Linked DNA regions of Homo sapiens: all the other regions are linked to region 2. The links are contacts of gene promoters, found by promoter capture Hi-C in human tissues and cell types (Jung and others, 2019). All regions are on one chromosome and are shown on one strand. Each heading gives the region's core, a stretch centred on a gene start or on the middle of the fragment in contact. The rest is flanking DNA. Distances are from core to core; before and after follow the strand shown.

What was found. The method cuts DNA at HindIII sites, captures the fragments that hold promoters and counts their contacts. A contact is called where the count stands out against the background at its distance.
Region 1: a fragment that was not itself captured here is called in contact with the fragment with the promoter of CYP2A13 in region 2 in 2 of the 25 tissues and cell types used here (H1 embryonic stem cells and dorsolateral prefrontal cortex).
Region 3: a fragment that was not itself captured here is called in contact with the fragment with the promoter of CYP2A13 in region 2 in 2 of the 25 tissues and cell types used here (H1 embryonic stem cells and pancreas).

The regions. Positions count from the first base shown.
Region 1 is chr19:40,931,043-40,934,620 of GRCh38, reverse strand. It overlaps the pseudogene CYP2B7P. Among named protein-coding and RNA genes, the nearest start is that of CYP2A7, 51 kb to the right of the region's middle. The HindIII fragment of the contact is 3,944 bases long and covers 1-3,286 here.
Region 2 is chr19:41,086,702-41,090,390 of GRCh38, reverse strand. It overlaps CYP2A13 (cytochrome P450 family 2 subfamily A member 13), which reads right to left and starts at 1,940. Exons shown (of 9, transcript NM_000766.5): 1 at 1,740-1,940; 2 at 1,300-1,462; 3 at 195-344. The coding sequence starts at 1,919. The HindIII fragment of the contact is 9,937 bases long and covers 1-3,689 here.
Region 3 is chr19:40,953,481-40,956,994 of GRCh38, reverse strand. No RefSeq gene overlaps it. Among named protein-coding and RNA genes, the nearest start is that of CYP2B6, 36 kb to the left of the region's middle. The HindIII fragment of the contact is 3,838 bases long and covers 144-3,514 here.

The DNA.
Region 1 (3,578 bases), core at 65-2,564, 160 kb after region 2:
ACAGGGCCGGGCATGGTGACTCACACCTGTAATCCCAGCACTTTGGGAGGCTGAGACGGGCTGATCACGAGGTCAGGAGTTTGAGTCCAGCCTGACCAACATGGTGAAACCCCGTCTCTACTAAAAATACAAAAATTAGTCTGGCGTGGTGGCCCTCACCTGTAGTCCCAGCTACTCGGGAGGCTGAGACAAGAGAATTCCTTGAGCGTGGGGAAGTGGAGGTTGCAGTGAGCCGAGATCACGCTGCTGCACTCCAGCCTGGGTGACAGAGCAAGACTCCATCTCACAAAAAAGAAAAAAAAGTTCAAACACAGACAAAATCAACCCATGATCAAGATGGTAGGTGGATAGTGACTAGAAAAGGACGGGGTGTGGTGTTTTGGGGGACTCTTGCTACTTGGCCTGCATGTCAATTACATGAGTATGTTCAGTTTGTGAAAATTCATTGAGCTGTGCACTTTTTATAGTGATGTTCAATTTCAATAAAAACTTGACATAAAAATTAGAAAAATGTTTAAGTTTACTTACAAATGCCCTGCATTGATCTCTGCAAAGCCCCTTCACTGGTCTCCTGCCTTACATTCTTAGACCCCTTAACAACTGTTTCACTGCCCCACAAGCCAGGGTAACCCCACTAAAATGTAAAATAATTAATATCCCTGTGCTCACCAAGGCCTCCAATACTCCAACTTTGCTGAGAATAAGATCTGAAGTCTCCACCTGTGGTTGACATGGTCCTACATGATGTGGCCCCATCACCTCTCTGACTTCTCCTCCCACTGATTCCTCCATGTTGTTCCCTGAGATTTTTCCTGCTTCAGGATTCTTGCAACCACCCTGCCTCCTTCTGGCACCTTCCACCTGAATCTTTCCTGGTCCCTGCTAAGAAACAAAGCAAGGCGGAGTCTTTCCCTAACCACTCAATCTAATGTAGTTCTCCATCACTTTCTGAAATATCCTCCTGCTTTAGTTTAATCGTAGCTCTTGTCCACCTAACATTTCCTTATCTGTTTATTTTTTGCTTATCTGTCTCCACCAATGGAATGTCCATAAGCACAGTGTTACCTCGTATGTCTTGTCCAAGATGCCACATCATCAATTCATAGAATATTTCCTGGTACATAGAAAGTGCCCAGTGAATTGTTATTGGATTCATGAATAAATGAATGAGTGGATCAAGGTAGTTGCCATTTAATGAGCACTTATTATATACTAGCTGCATGCAATATCCCATTTAATTCTCACAACCACCTTAGGGGCACACATTCTCATTGTCATGGTCTTAATTGACAGAAGAGAAAACTGTGACTCAACGCATAAGAATTGAATCTGAGACACGAGCCCGCATCCCTCTGGCTCCAAAAGGAATCTGGAAGCTTATTGGGAAATGGAGAAGCAACAGCGCCACCTTCCTCAGCCTTGACACACACTTGCTCATGCCCTCCCTCTTTCCCCTACCCCCAAGAGATGCAATCATAATAGACGGTCATGAATACCTAGAGGACCCTTGGAAGGTTTATGAAAGAGTTTTAGGGAGTCTGTGAAGCCTCACAACTTTATGCAAACATGTATGTGCCTATTTGGAAAAGAGGGGGCCACAGCTTTAATCAAACTCTCAGAGGATTTCATAATCCACAAAATGTTAAGCAGCTTTAGTCTAGGAGGGCTTTGGAGACAGACCTCCTGCTGGAGCTCAGCTTCTCCTTTTCCTAGTTGTGTGCCACTGGACAAGTGCTTTCCCCAGGCTGAGCATCTCCATCCCTACTGTTTTTTTGTTATTGCTGTTGTTGTGTTGTTGTTGTTTTTTGAGACAGAATTTCACTCTTGTTGACCAGGATGGAGTGCAATGGTGCAATCTCGGCTCAGGGCAACTTCCGCTTCCTGTGTTCAAGCAATTCTCCTGCCTCAGCCTCCTGAGTGGCTGGGATTACAGACATGTGCCACCACACCAGCTAGTTTTGTGTTTTTTTAGTACAGATAGGGTTTCTCCATGTTAGTTAGGCTGGTCTCGAACTCCTGACCTCAGTTGATCTGCCTGCCTCAGCCTCCTAAAGTGCTGAGATTACAGGCATGAGTCACCATGCCCGGCCACCATCCCTACTTCTAAGATGAGGGTAGCACCTCACCTTGTCCACAGGTAGTTGTAAATGACACCTAGAAAATCCCCATGACAACACAGGTAATTCCCAGACACATTACTCTAGTGGGAAAACTAAGTCCATTGATTCACATGATAGCATGATATTCTCGTGACACATGGAAAATGATGAAAAGAAAACAATAGGCACTTGAGACCTTCACCTATGTGATGGGACTCTATTTGGTGGGGAGGGATCCTTAGATCTGCGACCCCCTACTGGGGGCCTGGTAGCACTTTGCAGGCCCCGGCCGACTGTCAGTTCTGCTGAGTCAGGCTTGGAGCTTTCACTCACTGACTCCTTCATTTGTTTCTATACACATATTTGCTAAACGCCTATTGTGTACCAGGCACTATGTTCAGCTCTGTGGTGAGTCCTCGCAGGCCTTCCTTGTCTGGAAGTGTGAGGGAGAGATCAGCCACAGGATCACAAGTAAATGCAGCATTGTCAAGGACATAGGCTCAGTAAGGAGGGGCAGCTGGTGTATGAGAGCCTATGGTGGGGACCTGGGGGTCAGGAAGTCTTCTCAAGGGAGCTACTGCTTGCCTGGATGGCTAAGGAACCCCAATAATGAGGAACGGACACTGTTCTTGCACTGACATTAACCAAGATGACCCACCCACATCCTCAAACAACAACAACAACAACAAAACAAACTATTTACCCCAAGCCCTCCCTGTGAGAAAATGGAAATCTTTGCTGCAACGAAGAAGGGGAGAGGGTCAAACATGTCTATTCAAAACTTATCCCAATGCTTTGGGATGTTGAAGCAGGAGGATTGCTTGAGGCCAGGAGTTCAAGACCAGCCAAGGCAATATAGTGAGACCCTCCCCCAACACGTCTCTACAAAAATAAAAAAAAATAGTGGGGCATGGTCGTTCACACCTGTAGTCCCAGCTACTCTGGAGGCTAAGGCGGGAGAATCTCCTGAGCCCAGGAGTTCAAGGTTGCAGTGAGCTATCACTGTGCCATTGCACTCCAGCCTGGGTAACAGACTGAGACCCTGTCTCTAAAACAATTTAAATGAAAAATTCAATATCGTTCCTGACAAGCCTCCACTTTCTATGAACTAACAAGATAGCCACAAAGATCCTTTTGAAAACTCATTTTAGGCAAATATGAATTTCATTGACAGTTTTGCTTGTTTCAGAATTTGTAAAGGATTGGGATATTCAATGACCATGCCAGCTCTCATAAAGAAAGGGGGCAGTGAGATACCAAGAGCTAGAAGGAGCAGCAAATTCTGTTAATAGAGGCATGATTGGTCTCCAGATAGTGTCTGCAGAGTTTAGAAAAAACCCTTAAAGAGAAGGTTCAGTGAATTGTGTAGGATGTCTTTGACCAGAATTTAAACCTATGCACACTTTCCTAAATGTTGTCACTCCTCACACTGCAGATGATTTTTTTTTTAAGAGACAGGGTCTTGCTCTGTTGCCCAGG
Region 2 (3,689 bases), core at 691-3,190:
GGGAGAAGGGGGTTGGGGAGAGAGTCAACTCAGAGGTCTGAGGAGAGTCAGAATTCCAGGAGGCAGGGCCCTGTTGAGCCGAATCCCAGCGCCAGACTCCAGGGCTGGAAGTGCGGGCCCCTTTCCCCACCTAGTCCCCATCCCCAGGCAGAAAGCGCGGGTTCCCGCCCTCGCACTCGGGGTCCCCTACTCACCGTGCGTGCCCCGGAGGGCGTCGATGAGGAAGCCCGCCTCCTCCTGGATGCGTTCCTCGATGCCGCGCTTGCCCACGCCAAAACCCCTTAGGGTGGCGATGGAGAAGCGCCGGAGCTGCTTGGCGCGCTCCCCGTTGCTGAACGCCACGCCTGGGGAGGTGAACGCGGGGGTGGAGAGAGGTCAGGGGGCGGCGGGAGCAGGAGCGGACCAGCTCCAAGGGGCTCCCCAAGGGTGGAGCAGAGAGGGAGTGGGGTGGGAGAGAGATGGATTCAGCGCGAGTGCCCAGGAGAGCTGCAAACTCAGTCAGAGAAACACGAGAGCACGAGAGAGAGAGAGAGAGAGAGAGAGAGAGAGAGAGAGAGAGAGAGAGAGAGAGAGAGAGAGAGAGAGACCGGGTAGAAAGAATAAGAGAATCAGAAGAGAAGCAGAAAGGCCAGACAGACAGATGCAGAGAAACAGAGGGATACGGGGATACTCCATGGAGGAAGGGAAGGAAGTGGGGAGAGAAAGAGAGAGATGGAGGGAGGGGAAGTGAGATATGGGGAGATCTGGGAGGAGGAAATAAAAATGGTGAAAGATTCTTAAGCTGAACTGGAGAAGAGAGAAAAATATGGAGACAGAAACAGAGAGGATCGGGAAGGAGGACAGACAATTACCAGGAGTTGGAGGCTGGAGATGTGGAAGTAGGAATACCCTGAAATCCTAAGACAGAGGAAGAAGTGGGAGAGGGAAGCAGAGAGAGGAGAAACACGGAGAAGCACAGAAGCCGAGAGCGACAAAAAGACAAATGAAGACAGAGGACCAGGGCTGGAAAACAGAAACCCAGGATGTCCTCAGAGATGGAGAGAGAGGGGAAAGAGGAGACTCCAGTGAGAGAGAAGGAGGAGACGGGGCAGAGAGAGGCAGGGAGGAATCACGACAGGGACGCTGGAGACAGGTGAGGGACGCACAGGGAGAGGCCACGATGAAGGGAGATGGGGAGAGAAGACCAGACAGGGGGCTCTGCCATAGCCTCCAGTGGGCAGGAGAGTCAGGGAGAAGGCTGGGGACACGGAGACCATTGCATCCACCTGGCCACCTTCCCCCTCTTGGGCACCCCCTCACCATAGCCTTTGAAGAGCCAGTCGAAGGTGGCCTGCTCGCCTCGCCCGCTGAACTCCTCAGCCTGGTCCACCAGAGCCTCCTTGACGGCATCATGTCCGCACAGCACCACGACCCGCCGGGGCCCCAAGTGAATGGTGAACACAGGGCCATAGCGCTCACTGATCTGTTGGAGGCAGGTGGGAGTGGTTAGAGGGAGCAGCCCCCACTCTGAATGGGCCCAGCACTGAGATATCATGTACTGGGATGCTTCGCCCCCAGGTTCTCACAGTCAGGGAGCTGGACATCCCAAGATCCTGTCTTTCCTGCTAGGACCCTGATGCTGAAACTCCAAGACTCCCTTTCCTAAGACTCTGGTCCACACTGGTCAATCCCCTGCCACAAAGCCCCAGCCAACTGGGCAGCCCCCACCCCGTGCCACCCATCTCCCTGCCTTAGGACACCTTCATGAGGGAGTTGTACATCTGCTCTGTGTTCAGCTGCAGGTAGTTTCCAATGAAGGGCAATGGGGTGGGTCCCGGAGGCAGCTTCCCCCTGCTCTTCCTCTGCCGCCAGACTGACATCAAGACCATCACAGTCAGGCAGGCCAGCAAGGTCACCAGAAGCAGCCCTGAGGCCAGCATGGTGGCAGTGGGATGATAGATGGTGATGGCTGGGGTGGTTTGCCTTTATACTGCCTGAAAAAGAGGGATGGACTTTGGTTGATTATATAATCACCTCATTTCACCTCCCAACTACACCCCAACCCTGAATCCCACACAGCTTAGGACACAGCCAGCAAGGGAGGAGGAGAGGGACCCCAGGGAAGCTGAACAGGGAGGGGAACTCCAGACTAAATCTGGTACTTCAGGAGGGTTGCTGCAGGGCTGTGGATTTAGGAGCGGGCAACAGATAAACTGTGGAACTGAGGAGTTTGGAATATTTGCACAGGGGAGCACCTGGACTTTGGATTTGGGATCTGGGAGTGAGAATGCACCCCAAAGTTGTGGATTTGGGCATTCCACGGGAGAGGAATCCAAAGGTCTGGGTTTTACTAGGGTGAGATGGAAGTGTGGCTGTGCATCTGGGGGTCTTCTGTTGTGGAGGATGCAGGGTTAAGGGTCTCAGGACGGGGGATTCCAGGCATATGGACTTGAAAGTCTTGGGGCTAGGAAGACCCAGGGCTGTGGGTGTGGAGTTTCTGGGAGGTGGAGTGTGTAGCAAGCCCAGCAGGTGCTCCCAGAAAGCCCAGCAGCCCAGCACTGGGCCCAGGGACTGACTTGATTTTGCTTTGACCCAGAGCTGTCTCTTGATGCCCAGAATCCTCATTGGAACCTCAGAGTGAGGCCAGGATGGGTGCCATAGAACCTCCGCTGCCCATCTCTGGCTGGGAAAGGGGCAGAAGACGAGAGCCATATTTCAGAGGAACTTTCCCCACACGTGGAGAAGAGTACCTCATGTTACCAGTTGGCAGAGGGGATTGGCTAGGTCTGGAGAAATAGTAATAACAACCCTCAAATGCTGGAAAAATCTCAAGTGTCCCAAGGGTTGTAATTTACGAAGAACTCCACTGGTTTCCAACCCAGATTCTTAGGGAAACCCACTAGATTGATTGTATCATCCCTATTAATACTATGATTGTTATTTATGTTTCTCATTTTATATAAAGATCTACAGAGGACAGAAAACAGACAGTGGGCAGGGGACATGTGTGAGTGGCCCTGAACTCCCATCTCTCTTGCTCTGCGTCTTTAGTTCCACTTTCTGGATTTGGTTTTCCTGCCAGTGGAAAGGGAGTGTTTGGGAAGAGAAGACCACGTTTGAGGGTGAGTTAAGTCTCCTTTAAGGGCGATTCCTGCTTTGTCAGGGGCTACTACTATTAGTAGGCAGAGGGAACAATCGCAGAAGAGATTGGGGTAAACTCCAGTATTAGGCACAGAGGCAGATCCTGGGGTGGGTGTGAGTGGAGAAGGGATGAGTAGCCCTCCTGTCCTTCCCTCAAGGAAATTCTTCCTTAGTAAACAGGACAGTTACCCTTTGGTGAGCATGGTCATATATGGGAAGATTAAGTCTAGGTGTGTATGATCTGGTTGAATCTTTGTAACAGTGAGGTTGGTTCATCATGATCATCCTCATTTTGAAGATGAGCAGATCTAGACTCCATAAATCCTCTTGAGTGAGGTCACACAGGGAGTAAGTGAGGGAGCTGGGATGTGAACTTTCTCCTCGCCCCCCTTCATTGACTGGCCTAGATCACCCTGGGAGTCAAGTGCAGGCCAGGCTTAGCAGGAGGTGAGTGCTGGGACTGGCATCAGCAGTGGACACACTGATGACATTGGCGGGTTCTGATATCAGCATCAGGTGTGTCCAGGGAGGGAAAGGCATCGTGTTGGCTTTGGGACTGCCCCCAGGTG
Region 3 (3,514 bases), core at 813-3,312, 130 kb after region 2:
CTGGATTAGCACTCCAGGGAACAGTGGAGGAGATAACAATTTGAATTTCTCCCTGGCAATCAGAGTCCACTACTCCAGTGTGTACTTGAATTGCCTTTAAATTTAAGTTGGACCTTCCCACCTTGCCATCTGGCAATGGGTCATAAGCTCCCATTGGGACCTTCCTAGGAGGCTCCCCAGGAAGGAGGGATACAGCTTCAGTACAGCATAAATCTACTGCCCCACTTTTAGCTGTGGAGGGGAACAATTGCTGCACATTTGTACAGGGAAAGACTGGGCTGGGAACACCCCATTTGTAGTCAGGGACGTCCTGTCCTGAATTGGGAATGCCCCATTTTGAATTAGGGCCTGTGGCTGGCCCCTCTGTCCATTTCCTGGCAAGGGCTGTCCGCTGTTATCAAACTTTGAATGACAGTGATTAGCCCAGTGTTTTCCTTTTTTACATCTGGGACAGGTACCTGGTTCCCTGCTTTTTCCTCCTAAGTTTTGCCTTTTTTGTACACTCTCTTTTTGTATGTCCTATCTGTCCACAATTATAGCAAGATCTGGGGAACACTCATATGTTTTTTGTTACCCTTAGTCTAGCCATTGCCGGAGCAAGAAGGCTGGCCTTATTCAAGTGCCTCCAATGCCATCACAGGCTTTAATGTATTCACTTAAAGTTTTTTCCTCATTTAGATCTGCCTTTCCCTTAATAGGTCTAATTTCTGCCTGACATTCTGTATCAGCATTTTCATAAGCAAGCAGCTGAACTATCACTTTCCTGACATGAGAATCCAAAATAGCCTTTTGAGCCGTGTCTTGCAAATGGGTGATAAAATCTGGATAAGGCTCCTTTGGACCCTGTTGAACTGAGTTAAAAGAAGTATAAGTAGTACCAGGGTCGTGAATTTTTTCCCAGGCTCTGAGGCATATAGTTCTGAGCTGATCAACAGTCTCATCACCCATTACCATCTGTCAATTTAGAGTACCCCATGCCTGTCTGATTCCAAGCAAGTGATCAGATGTGATATTAACAGGAGGTTGGGCTTGAGCATTTCTGCATGCCTGATTTGTTGTTGCTTGATCTGTCCGCCAGGTTTTAAATTGGAGAAACTCAGTGGGGGACAGGGTAGAGTGGGCTAATGCCTCCCAATCCATAGGTATTAAATGCCTGTTATAAGCCACAGATTGTAACAAGGAATGAACCTAAGGAGAATTTGGCCCATATTGTCCAATTGCTTGCTTTAAGTCTTTTAATATTTTAAAAGGAAATGGCTCCCAGCATGCTTCAGCATGTTGTCTGGGCTCCTCAGCTGGAGAAATAATTACCAGAAACTGCCAAGCATCCAAATCCCCCACATCTCATGCCTGGTAAATAGATGCCTGGATTGTCCCTGCACCGTAATTTGTATTTGGACCTGCTCACAGCATTCCTCTACCATAATTAAAAGGTGGACAAGCCTGGATCATTCCCTCACCATAATTGGCTGTTGGGTGAGCCTGAAGCTTCCCTTCAACATAGTTAATTGTGGGGCATGCAACAATGGGAGCAGCAAGTCATGTCTCAGGCTCCCATTCCAAAAATTCATAAGGCTGAGGCGGGGGTGGCCATTCTGGACCTTCCCCTAAAGGCGCAGTGGGTGGCACTGTTTCTGCAGTAGGTGGAAATGTTTCTTCTATAAGTTTTTGGAGGTTAGCATATATCCCTTTCTCCCCCTTTTTAAAACTAAACTGTGATGGTTCACTTTGCAGATCATCAAACTCCTGATTATTAAACTTTTCTATGTCATCCTGAAACTTCTCATCCTCCTCAGTGTGGAAAGGCTCCAGTGGTATTTTGATTGCTGACCACACAGACCAAGCAGACAAGGGAATATTGTAGCCCTCTTGTTGTGCTCATTTTAAGTCTGCTCCGAACTTGTCGCAGTCTTTTACATTCATGGTTCCATATTCCGGGAACCAAGGGGAATACTTTTCTATGAGCTGGAACAAAGATGTGAGATTTTGGGTACTCACAATTGCCCCTCTGTGGCACAATAACTGCCACACCAAGCTTAAGTAATTAGCAAATTTACTCTCAGCCTGACCCGTTTTCCCGAGGTTACCGTGGAATTCTCCAAGCACACTACTTATCCACAGAGCTTGAAGTGAAAACATATTCAGGCACCCTTTTTCTGTCATCTTCCACTTTCCATGCTCTAGCATTCCTTCACCAGATTATTTGTAGAGATAACGGGGAGTCCCACGTTGGGCGCCAGATGTTGGGGAAACCAGCCCCACACCACCCTGCAGGTACCGCGAGTCCAACGGAGACTAAAGAGTTAGAAAGAAACAGAGTGAGAATTTAAAAGGTGGGTCCGGGGGACCAGAGTGTCAGAGGCTTGCTCATGGCCCAGAGCTCTTTGGCTCTGCCTAATTTATTGGCTTACAAGCTCTTTGTTCTTAGGGCAGATGAGAAGGCAAGGAAGGGATGAGAAAAAGGATTAATCAATGAAGGAGAACTCGTGAGTTATTCAATAAGATGTAGAGCAGTGGCAGTTTCTGTGAATTTCCTTGAGCAAAGGCGTGTGTCTAAACTACTTAAAATCTTATCAGGACTGAAATGGGTGGGAGTGGGTTTCAGAAGAAGCCAAGATGTTTGATTGTACTTCACTGCTTTAAGGAAGTGTTATCTCCCTGAGCAACCTGTGGAATGCCGCTGAGCAGGTATGCTCTGGGAGCATAAAGACATAAAGACAATAAGGAGACTTTTCTCCTCAGAGGCCGCCCATGGCTCCCCATGGGTGTCTCACATAGGGGAGACCAACTCATCTGGTACTCCAGAAACTCTCTTTCCCACACCAGCTTGGCCTGGGAAGCCTTGTGAGCAGCCGGCACGTCATTATTTTTCTGATACCACTTCTGTACCAGGCCCTGACAGACCTGATCTCTTTTAATCCCAACAAGAAGACTCAATGATAATTGTTACAGTGCATTCTTACAGTGCACAATGATATCCCAGACACTTTTTGGAAGTGCAAAAAGCTCTTTGCACATACCTCACTGAATCTTCAAACAGCCCCACATTAGAGGTGCTATGATGATCTCTGCTTACAGAGGCAGAAATAAGGCACACAGAGGGCTTAAGTCACTTCTCAAGGGCACCAGCAAGGAGCTGGGATTCAACATCCAGACAATCTGGCTCCAATCAGTGATATTATCTCCTTCATTCCTGACAGACGGGAAGCTGAGAACTCTAAAGATGTGGCCCCCAGATTTGGAGAAGTGGGAGTTCTTATATAGATGTCAAAATATCACCCAAAGGAGCCAATGAACACCCTGAAATAGTCATGCAGCTGGGTGGCATTGTACCCACCTAGAAAAACTCCATGCAAGTATTTTGGATCCCTTGAAGGCTCAGCTCTTATTTACTCCACAAATATTTATTGTGAACCCTACTATATGTCAGGCACTTGTTCTGGAGGGTGGGGGAACCCACAGGGACCAAAGCAAACCATGACAACAGTAATAATTAAGTAAATGAGAACCTGCC